Regions from separate parts of the Homo sapiens genome. Here region 2 is linked to region 1. Evidence: promoter capture Hi-C in 16 types of primary human blood cells and fetal thymus (Javierre and others, 2016). All regions are on one chromosome and are shown on one strand. Each heading gives the region's core, a stretch centred on a gene start or on the middle of the fragment in contact. The rest is flanking DNA. Distances are from core to core; before and after follow the strand shown. Region 1 holds the start of TGM2 (transglutaminase 2). Region 2 has its middle 42 kb from the start of TGM2.

Region 1 (5,583 bases), core at 3,084-5,583:
ATTACAGACATGTACCACCATGCCTGGCTTGTGGATAGGAATTTTTTTACTACAGACAGGGTTTCTCCACGTTGGTCAGGCTGGTCTTGAACTCCCAACCTCAGGTGATCCGCCCTCCTCAGCCTCCCAAAGTGCTGGGATTACAGGTGTGAGCCACCACGCCCAGCCTGTGGATGGGATCCTGATCAACTTTCCTGGTTGAAGGCTGACCTGCAACCCTGGTGATAATAGGCTTTCAGAAGCTCAGGGTTCCAGAGGCACAGACTTGCTCACAAAGCTGGTGGTCTGCCATGACATCTCCTTCCTTTCCGGGCCTCAGTTCCCTCATCTCTAAAATGGGGCTGATGACAGGTGGCAATCTCCCAGGGAACAAAGAAGGTAAAGTTATTTGTCCTGTTCTCTGTCAGGGTTCTGGGGCATGTCGGGGTGGAGAGGAAGTGGTGGTGGTGGTGGTGGTGGTGGAGTGGGGTTGCAGGTACTCACCGGTCACGACACTGAAGGTGAGACTGTCTACACTGGCCTCGTAGTTGCGGCCCTCAAAGTGCAGGGTCAGCCAGAAGGGCTGGCCCCGTCGCACCACCAGCTTCTCCCGGCACAGGTCGGCCGTGTGGTGGTCTCGGCCATTGGTCTCCAGCTCCAGATCACACCTCTCTAAGACCAGCTCTATGGAAACAGAAGGAGACGCATGAGCCTCGGGGGCATCCTTCAGACCTCCAGTGATGCACCTGCCCTCCCTAGACATGGGGGCCTTGTGCCCTCTTACTCCCCACAAAGCACAGCCATTGTTTCGACTGACCTGTCTCCCCAGCCCTGGTCACACGGGGGCTAGGTGGGGCCCAATCTCCCTAACTCTTTTTTTTCTTTTTAATTTAATTGAGAAAAGGTCTTGCTTTGTTGCCCAGGCTGGAGTGCAGTGGTGTGATCATAGCTCACTGTAGCCTTGAATTCCTGGGCTCAAGGGATCGTCCCACCCCAGCCTCCTGAGTAGCTGAGAGGACAGGCGTGCACCACTAATTTTTTCATTTATCAGTGAGCTGGGACTATAGGTATGTGCCCAGCTAATTTCTTCATTTTTGGTTTTGCCATGTTGCCCAGGCTGCTCTCGAACTCCTGGGCCAAGTGATGGCTCCTGCCTTGACCTACCAAAGTGCAGGTGCGAGCCACAGTGCCCAGCTTTGCCTAAATCTTTTAATCACAAGGTCGTGACCCCCTGTGGCACTTCCTAGCTGTGTGACCTCCAGCAGCCATGGGACCAGCAGTATCTACCTCCCAGGGCTGGTGTGAGCAAGAAATGAATTAATGCATGTAAAACACTTAGTACAATGTCTGTTGTGTAATAAATACTCAATAAACACGAGCTATTCTATTGCTATCAGAGGGTTCTTTTGGTTTAAGCAGGGGCAGTATTTGGTACAGGTCAATTACATGGCCTTTGCCTTTAGATCCAATGTTCAATTTACAGGAAATACCCAGGGCTGAGGAACAAGTTAAACACAGAACCAGGATGCAGTTGACAAACTTCATATACTGGGAAATTATTGACAAAGGGTCCGGTTTCTTTAATAAATAGATTGCAAGAAAGAAAATGAAAAAAACATTGAAGAGAGAACCTATAAAGAGAAACTTAAACCCGTTGTGATGTATTGATCTATTTGGATCTTGATTTCAAAAAAGTATTTTAAAACATTTATTACATGTATGAGACAACTGGAAATTTAAATACTGATGGCATAATGGTGATATCAAAGAATTTTTGTTAATTTGTTTGTGTTAAAAAAAAGAGAGTCCTTATCCTTTAAAGGCATATACTGAAACATTGACAGATGACATGATGTGATGTCTGAGATGAAGGTGCGCAGGGGCAGGAGACACCACGGTGGTCAGTGCTGGGTGATGAGGACATAGGAATTTATTAAACAATTCTGTCTATTTTTGTGTATGTTCAATATTCTCCAAAACAAAACATTTTTAACATGATAGGTGCTTTGGAGACTTCCAGAGGTAGGTTTTAGTTCTGCTGTGTTGCTGTGTGAGCCTGGATAAGTGTCTCTCCCTCTCTGTGACTCCTCCTCTGAAGTCTCAAGGGGCTGCTGTGAGTCTAGAAGATGTGTTGGGAACCCCCTTCCCCACGGCCCAGCCCAGGACAGAAGCTTGATACGTGAAAGTTCCATTTACAGTTTCAGATGGAGCAGAGGACCAGGGCACGGTCAGGGTGACAGATGGGTGGGGGTCTTGGGGGAAAACAAATCTCATAAACCTTGGCAAGCTCAAGGTCAGGATGGGGAAGCCCTTAAGGTGGGAGGAGTGGGCAAGACAGACTCTGAGTGTGGAGCCACTGGACAGCATGTGGTCCAAGTGAGGCCCAGGGGCAGGAATTTGTTCAAAGTCACGCCGCAAGTTGGTCCTTGCAGTGGGAGAGCCCAGGTCTCCTGCTCACCATCGACTATTCCAAAAATGAGATGCAAAGTGCCTTGTATGTGAATTATCTCGACTTAAATCCCAAAACAACTCCGCTTACATAGATGCTATCATGATTCCCATTTTGTAGACAAAGACACCAGGTGGCTCCAGGTCCCAGAGCAAGTGGCTGCTTTGGGATTGGAATCCAGAGCTGTAGGATTCTGTAGGATTCTGCCCTGGGAACCACCTCACTACAGCTCAGTTTTTTCTCCAGCCCCTCTTATGACCACCCCTTCGCCACCATGTCCTGTGTTGTTCTCAAACCTGGGGGCAGATAGTTCTGCGCCACTGAAGTATCAGGGATGTCGGTCCCCGTGTAATCACAACAGAAGAGACCTCAGTGGCCAGAAGGAAAAACTTCCTGCTGGCCTATTGCGGCGAGGAAATGTTTTTGGAAACTTCAGACCCAGGGAGCTTGAGCAGGAAAGAGGCCATTGTTGTTCCCATGGAAGACCCTGGAGATACGGCCAGTCCCTGGGCTGTGGGAGCTGGGGCATTTTCTCCATCTGTTGTCCGAAGAAGGGTTTCCAGAAATCACGCCCAGCTCCAAAGATGCAGGTCTAGAATTGTAGGATTTATAGGATTTCTGCACTTAGAAAGGGCCTAGGCCTTCTAGGCCAGTGAGACCTCTGTCAGAAGTGGCCACTGTGACATGGGGCTGGAGGCTCATCATAACTGGCATCTCCAGGATCTCCCAGCCCCACTGAGCCCTGCTTTTGAGCATGGGGGTGAGAAGATGCATTGAGGACAAGCGGCCACCGAGGCGACACATCACAGTGTGTTGGGAGCTGGGCCCGAGGGAGGCAGGTGGCTGAGATCACACAGCAGGGTCAGGTGGGTCCACAGTTCCTGCCACCCATTCCTGCTCCACCTGCCCCATGTCCCTGTCCCACACCCCTTCCTGGGGGTTGCAATGGGTGCAGAAGCCATCCCCAGATGAACTTGACCCAAGAGCCAGCTGGGATTCTGGGTCCAGCAGTGACATCCTCCATTGTAGAAATCCCTCCAGCTGGGACCTACGAGAGTGCTGCTTGTGTGTGGGGAGGGAGTCAGGGGCACCAGTATGAAATTAGTTAAGCCTCTGTTCCACTCCTCTCGTTCCTCACAGATGCACCAAAGGCTGGAGCAGAGGACCAGGGCACGGTCAGGGTGACAGATGGGTGGGGGTCTTGGGGGAAAACAAATCTCATAAACCTTGTCCTATAAAATAAGGACACTGTTGTCCTTATTTTATAGGTGAGACTCAACAATTGGCCAAGGTCTAGGGTTGCAGAACGTGAGGGCGGGAAGAACAAGCCTGATTTCCGAAGGCTCCTGGATAGGATGCCGAAAGCTCCTCTCTGGCCGCTGGAGCCAAGGACTCAGCCAGGCTTGGCTTGCACACCACCGGCGTGGCATGCACACCACCTGGTCCTGGCTGGCAAGAACCACCCAAACCTAAGTGTTCTGAGGCCAGGCCAGCACCCCCTGCACAGCTCCAGGCACACATCAGAGAGCCAGCCCCCACTGACTGACTGAGGACACGTGCCAGTGGTCCGCCAGGACAGTACTTTACAGTTTACAACACCCCGTCGCGTTCCATTGCCTCACCTGATCCAGGGAGGCAAGGGTTAATGGTTATGCAGTGTGGATGGGGAAACTGAGGCTCCAAGCAGCATTGAGACGCCTCCTCACCCAGCCCGGTCTGCCTGTTGCTCTCCAAATCAGGACTTAGGGATTCAGCTCCCACCGGGTCCTGACCCCCAATGCCCCGGGGCCCCTGAGTGGCGGCTGCGGTGACTCTGATACTCACCCTCGGCCATGGTCGGGCGGGGGCGGTGGCTCCTTCCACTGGCGGCGAGACCCTCCAAGTGCGACCACTGGCGGCTGGCACTGCCGAGGCGGAGAGCGGCGCTAACTTATAGCCCGCTTTGGGGCGGGCCGGGGGCGGGGCCCCGCGGGAAGGCGGCGACCTGGGAGGCCACCCATTGCCCAGTCCCGGGCCCACGCCGCCAGCGCTGGGGCTCACCCAGGGGACCGGAGCCCGAGGGAGGGACGGCGGCCGGACGAGGGCGCCCCCTGGGGGAGCGGACAGGGACACACAACTAGCCCAGGATACAGACACACCTGGACCCACAGACTCAGACCTTGGAGAACAGACACCTGGACACACACACTCAGATACAGACACACGCAGCACCCTCATAGAAACACACAACGGAACCGGGGTGCACCTGGACACACAGATGTGGACTCTTAGGTCAGATCTGGGATCAAGAACACCTCCCCACCCCCAACACACACACACACACACACACACACACACGCACACACTCACACACATACTCAGATATACATACACAGAGAGCAGACGCAGACACACCAAGACAGGGCTGTGGAGATACACACACAAACACAGATACACTCCCACAGATACACCAAACACGGCTGGCCACGCAGACACAGTGACATGGATACAAATTCAGATTCGAATGGCAGACACACACCAGGACATAGATACAGCCTGACACAGCCAGGTAGCCTTGACCGCGAGCCACACACAGCTGTGGACACAGATGAGCAGGTGTCCAGAGGCACCTGGCACACACACAGACCTCCTAGACACCAATGCCACTGTCAGATGTGGACGCAAAATCAGAGAGGGCACCCACAGACACACAAAGATGTGGCTACTCAGAGGTAGACACACATGCAGGCATGGACTCAGGTACAGACATGCAGACACACCTGCAAAAACAGACACACCCATGTCCCTTCCTGTAGCAAAACCCAGATAATCCTCCGATCTCACCCATCCTTGTATCTGTCTAATCAGCCATCCATCTAATCAGCCATCCATCTACCCATCCATCCACTCACCCATGCATCACCTACCCCCCCACCTATCCATCCACTCATCCCTTCATCCATCCCTCCCTCGGCCTTCTCTTCCCTCCCTCCCTCAATCCATCCATCCACTGAGCTTTCTTGAGGCCCCACTGTGTGCCAGAAAGGAGCAAGACTAACTTTCCAGGGACTCAGCCTAGGACTTCTCGAACCTGGCAACCAGGGGTCCTATCTCTCATCCTGGTATCTCTGGTCTCTTGGTCTCCTGTGCTTCCGGATCCACTGTGAGCCCTGAGC
Region 2 (5,583 bases), core at 1,638-4,137, 42 kb after region 1:
TATAATGGACTCATACATATTGGTCATTTTGTGTCTGGCATATTTCACTTAGCATAATCTTTTCAAGGTGCATCCATGTCGTGTGTATCAGAACTCATTCCTTTTTATGTGGCAAGATAATGTTCCATTGTATGTGTGTGCGTGTGTGTATATATATATATAACAAAATGTGATTATATAAAACAAATGGAATTATATGTGTATATTTTGTTTATTCATTCATCTGTTAATGGACACTTGGGTTATTTCCATCTTTGAGCTATTGTAAATAATGCCGCAATAAACATTGGCATACAAGAATCTCTTTGAGTTTCTGTTTTCAAATCTTTTGGGTTTGTAACTAGGAATGGAACTGCTAGGTCATTCTATGTTTAACTTTTTGAGGAACTTCCAAACTGTTTTACACAGCAGCTGCACGGTTTTACATTCCCACTAACCATGTATAAGGGTTCTAATTTCTTCATGTCCTTGCCAACATTTGTTATTTGCTGCATTTAAAACATCATAGCCATCCTAGTAGCTATGAGATGGTATCTCATTGTGATTTTGATTTGCATTTCCCTATTGACTGGTGATGTATCTTTTCATGTGCTTGTTGGCCATCTGTACATCTTCTTTGGAGAAATAACTATTCAAGTTCTTTACCTAGTTGGTAATTGGGTTGTATTTTTTTGTTGTTGTAGTATAAATTCTTTACATATTCTGTATATTAAACTCATCAAATATACAATTTGCAAATATTTTCTCCCATTCTATATGTTGCCTTTTCACTTTCTTGATAATTTCCTTTGATGCACTAAAGATTTTAATTTTGATGAAGTCTAATTTATCCATTTTTATTTACGTTGATTGTATTTTTGGTGTCATATCTGAGAAGTATCTATTGGCAAATCCAAGCTCATTAAGATTTACCCCTACTTTTTTTCTATGATTTTTGTTGTTGTTGTTGTTGTTTTGAGATGGAGTCTCGCTCTGTTGCCCAGGCTGGAGTGCAGTGGCGGGATCTCGGCTCACTGCAAGCTCCGCCTCCCAGGTTCATTCCATTCTCTTGCCTCAGCCTCCCGAGTAGCTGGGACTACAGGCACCCGCCACCACGGCCATCTATTTTTTTTGTTTTGTTTTGTTTTGTATTTTTAGTAGAGATTGGGTTTCGCCGTGTTAGCCAGGATGATCTCGATCTCCTGACCTCGTGATCCACCTGCCTTGGCCTCCCAAAGTGCTGGGATTACAGGCGTGAGCCAATGCACCTGGCTTTTTCTGTGAGTTTTATAGTTTTAGCTCTTATATTTAGGTTGTTGATCTATTTTTAGTAAATTTTTTAATATGGTGTGAAGCAGGGGTCCAACTTTATTCTTTTATGTTTGGAAATCCAATTGTCTCAGCATAATTTGTTGAAGAGACTATTCTTTCTCCATTGAATGGACTTGGGACCCTTGTCAAAAATCATTGGCCATAGATGCATGGGATTATTTTGGGATTCAAAATTCTATTCCTTTGTCCATACATTTATCTTTATGGAAGTACCACACTGTTTTGATTACTATACCTTTGCAGTAAGTTTTGAAATTGAAAACTCTGGGTCCTCCAACTTTGGCCTTCTTTCCAAGATGTTTTGGCCATTTGGGGCCTATTGCAATCTGTTTTAAATTTGAGAAGTGGCTTTTTATTTCTGGACAAAAAAGCAGTTGGAATTTTGATAGGATTACATTGAACCTATATATTGCTTTGGGTGGTATTGACGTCTTAACAATCCTATCCATGAATATAGTGTGTCTTTCCATTTATTTAGGTCTTCTTTAATTTCTTTCAGTAATGTTTTGTAGGTTTCCGTGTATAAATCTTTCATCTCCTTGGTTAAATTTAGTACTGGGTATTTTATTCTTCTAGTGCTGTTGTAAATGAAATTGCTTTCTTAATTTCCTTTTTGAATTGTTTGTTGCTGGTATATAAAAACACAGCTGATTTTTGTGTGTTGATCTTCTAACTTGAAATTTCGCTGAATTTATTAGCTGTAGTAGCTTTCGTGTGGATTCTTTGGGATTTTTGAGATATAAAATAATGAGATCTGATCTTTTAAATATATAAATAGTTTTACTTCTGCTTTTCCAGTTGGATGCCTTTTTCCCCTTTTTCTTGTCTAACTGCGCTGGCTAGAACTTACAGTAAAATACTGAATAGCAGTGCTGCAAGTGGGCATTCTTGTCTTTCTCCTGACCTCAGAGAGAAAGCTTTTAGTCTTTCACCATTGAATTTGATGTTGGTTGTGGGTTTTTCATAAATGCCTTTTATCATGTTGAGTATGTTCACTTTTATTCCTATTTTTCTGAGTGTTTTTATCATGAAAAGCTATTGGGTTTTGTCAAATGCCTTTTCTGCATTGATTAAGATGGTCGTGTGGTTTAATTTCCTTTATTCCATTAATTTGGCATATTACACTGATTGATTTTCTTATGTTTAGCTATCTTTGCACTTCGAGAATAAATCCCACTTGGTCATGCTGTATAATCCTTTTAAGATGCTGTCATGTTTGGTTTGCTAGCATTTTGTTGAGGATTTTTGCATTTATATTCATGAGGTATATTCATAAGTTTAGTAATTTTCTTTGTGATGTCCACATTTGGCTTTGATATCAGGATAAGAGTGGCTTCGTAAAATGTTAGGAAGTGACTTCATTCCTTTTTAATGGCTAAATAATATTTCATTATGTGTATATTTTTAAAATCCGTTTTTAAAAAATCCATTCAACAGCTAATCAACATTTGGGTTGCTTCTACTTTTTGACTATCAGAAATAATTCTCAATAAGCATTCATGTATAAATTTTTGTGTGGATATGTTTTCATTTCTCTTGGGTATTGACCTAGTAATGGAATTGTTTGGTCATATGATAACTTGATGTTTCACAGTTTGAGGAACCGGCAAACTGCTTGCCAAAGTAGTTGCACCATTTTACATTGCCACCAGCAGTGTATGAGAGTTCTGATTTCTCCACATCTTCACCAACACTTGTTATACGTCTTTTTATTATAGCCATCTTTGTGGATGTGAAACAATATCTCCTTGTGGTTTTGATTTGCATTTCCCTGATGGCCAGTAATGTTGAATATCTTGTCATGTGCTTATTGGCCATCTGTACATCTTCTTTGGAGAAAAGCCTATTCAGGTCCTTTGTCCAGTTTAAAATTTACTATTATTAATAGTAGTATTTAGCTGTGAGAGCTTTTTACATATTATTGATACAGAATATTATCTTTTATGGGCCCACACTTGCAACTCTCTTCCAAGGTCTGCCCTGGAGCTACCAGACTCTGCTTTGTGCCACATGATTCTGCAGAAAGCCTGAAGTGCCTTGGAGGTGTAAAATGTCCTCCAGAGTTCCCCCACGCAGTCAGGCAGAGGCAGGGACTTGGTCTGAAATTGCACCTTGGCTTCCCTCCCTTCCCTGTTCTGCTTGCCTTTCTGGTTTCTCTTGTGATCACCTCTTCAATGAATCACCTGTACCTGAATCCTCACCCCTAGGTCCACTTCTGGGGAACCTGACCCCAGAAAAAGCTTGGAATGGCTGAGGAAATGAAAACAAGTTAGTGCTTCTGGAACTCAGAAGACATGGAGATTGAGATGAGGCTGAAGTGGAGGGCAGAGGCTGACAACACAGGCTTTGTAGATCACAGAAAGGTTGGATTTTCTATCTGGAGAGCTATGAGGTGCTACTGTTCAGGGTTAAGCGGGGCTGACATTATATTACATTTTGAAATACCCCTCTAGTTTCTGGGTGGAGAACAGATGAAGGGGATCCAAGTGACTGCAGGAAGACCACTGCGGACCCTGTTATAGTTGTCTGGGGCTAGAGGATGGAGGCTGGGATGAGGGTGAGGACGATGGAGGGAGAGAGAAGTAGAAGATAACAGAGAGATCAGGAGAGTGGATTTAGGGGTTAAGGGGAGGTTTGAGGACAACTTGCAAGTTTCCAGCCTGGGTACCTGGATGGATGGTCAGTGCACAGAGAGGGAAGCAGGACTGGAAGGGCAGGTCAGAGATTCCACATGCAAAACACCACCAGTTTTCCTTCCTGGTCTGACCTAATCCCTCCATTTCACAGATGGGGAAAGGAGGTCCTAAGGAAGTACCTGACTACCCAGAGTTCCCCAGCATGCCCCAGGCAGAGGGCAATGGGACCCCCAGAGTCCTGCCGCCTATCCAGAGCACTTACCCTACAGGGGACTCTCTGGCTCTGGCCTCAGAGAGCTATTTTCAGCTGGGGTTTGAGACGAGGCAAATTTGTCCTGGGCTGGAGGCCAATTCACAGCCCCTGGAGAACAGGACATCTCTGCTTTATGAGGTCAGACTGTATTCTGACCCCAGCCAGCCACCCTGTCTGGGTCTAAAGTGGGTGTGACAGCCACCCTGTCTGTGTCACAAGGGTGTGAGGGGCCTACCTCAAAGTGGCTGACAAAACACACGCTCATCCACAATCCTGGGTTTGGCATTGATCCAGAACCAGGCCCAGACCCTGTGCTTTCCCCTTCTTGGCCCCTTTCCTGGCTGTGTGACCTTGGGCAAGTCATTGCCCCTCTCCAGGCTTTAGTCTTCCCATCTGTAAAATGGGGCCATCTCAGAGTATGACTTCTGTGACCCAAAGGGTTGTAGTAAATATCAGATGGGAAATAGATGGACAAAAAGTGCTTTGCGAACTGTAAAGTGCCTAGACTTCTATTGGGGCTCAGTCCTATGTCTGCCCCACATCACTGCCCAGCAGTGAAAAGTCTTTTCAAAGCTTTGTTCCTTCACAAGATGGCTACTCCTCTGGAAAGGAAGAAGTCTTGGTGTGGAACACAAGGATCCAGAGATCTTATTTTCCTGACCCAGCAGGCTTGGCAAATCCAGTGGACAGATGGAAAAACTGAGGAGCACCTATCTACTCAGAGGCACTAGGCTGTTAAGCCTGGATTCAAAAGCAGGGCTCTCCAAGATGAGAAAGATCCTCATCCATCCAACGCCTCCATTGGAAAGATGGGGTAAACTGAGCACCAGAGAGAGGAAGCAACCTGCCTCGGGTGACCAGGCCATCAGCAACAGGGCAGAGTGGCACCTGAAGTGCCTGACTTCCAGGCTGTGCTTCTCTTTCTGTCTCTTGCCTACCAGCCCCTTGAGCTTGAAAAAAGTGTTCCCATCACAGTGGGATGTTGACAGTCACATCACTGGCTGACTTGGGGTTCCTTGAAAGCCCATCTTCTTCCACCACAGCAGGCTTCAAACTTTGTTTAAAAATCCCATGGAGGGGCACTGTGGCCTCTGCCTCCTCAGAGCAGTCTCTCAGGGGCTGAGGCTTTGCTGATTCAAAGCTATGTCATCACTCGCAGGGAATCTCTGGGGGAGGCCATGCCATGCCATGCCCCTACTGTGGGCATATTTGGGCAAAGTCAATAAACTAGGCCCAGATCAAGTCCAGCTCTGCCCCTCACTGTGGCACTGGGCAAGGTACCTCCAAATCTCTCTGAGTTTCAGCTTTGTCCTCAGTAAAATAGGGTGGAATCAGTCCTCATAATGTTGTAAAAAAAATTCAACAAGCCCTGTAAAGCTTTTA

What was found. The method cuts DNA at HindIII sites, captures the fragments that hold promoters and counts their contacts. A CHiCAGO score of 5 or more calls a contact.
Region 2: a fragment that was not itself captured here is called in contact with the fragment with the promoter of TGM2 in region 1 in 1 of 17 cell types (monocytes); the score reaches 5.8 in monocytes.

The regions. Positions count from the first base shown.
Region 1 is chr20:38,160,937-38,166,519 of GRCh38, forward strand. It overlaps TGM2 (transglutaminase 2), which reads right to left and starts at 4,334. Exons shown (of 13, transcript NM_004613.4): 1 at 4,253-4,334; 2 at 484-663. The coding sequence starts at 4,262. RefSeq lists a silencer at 4,187-4,626. The HindIII fragment of the contact is 3,789 bases long and covers 2,149-5,583 here.
Region 2 is chr20:38,204,874-38,210,456 of GRCh38, forward strand. No RefSeq gene overlaps it. Among named protein-coding and RNA genes, the nearest start is that of TGM2, 42 kb to the left of the region's middle. The HindIII fragment of the contact is 1,323 bases long and covers 2,227-3,549 here.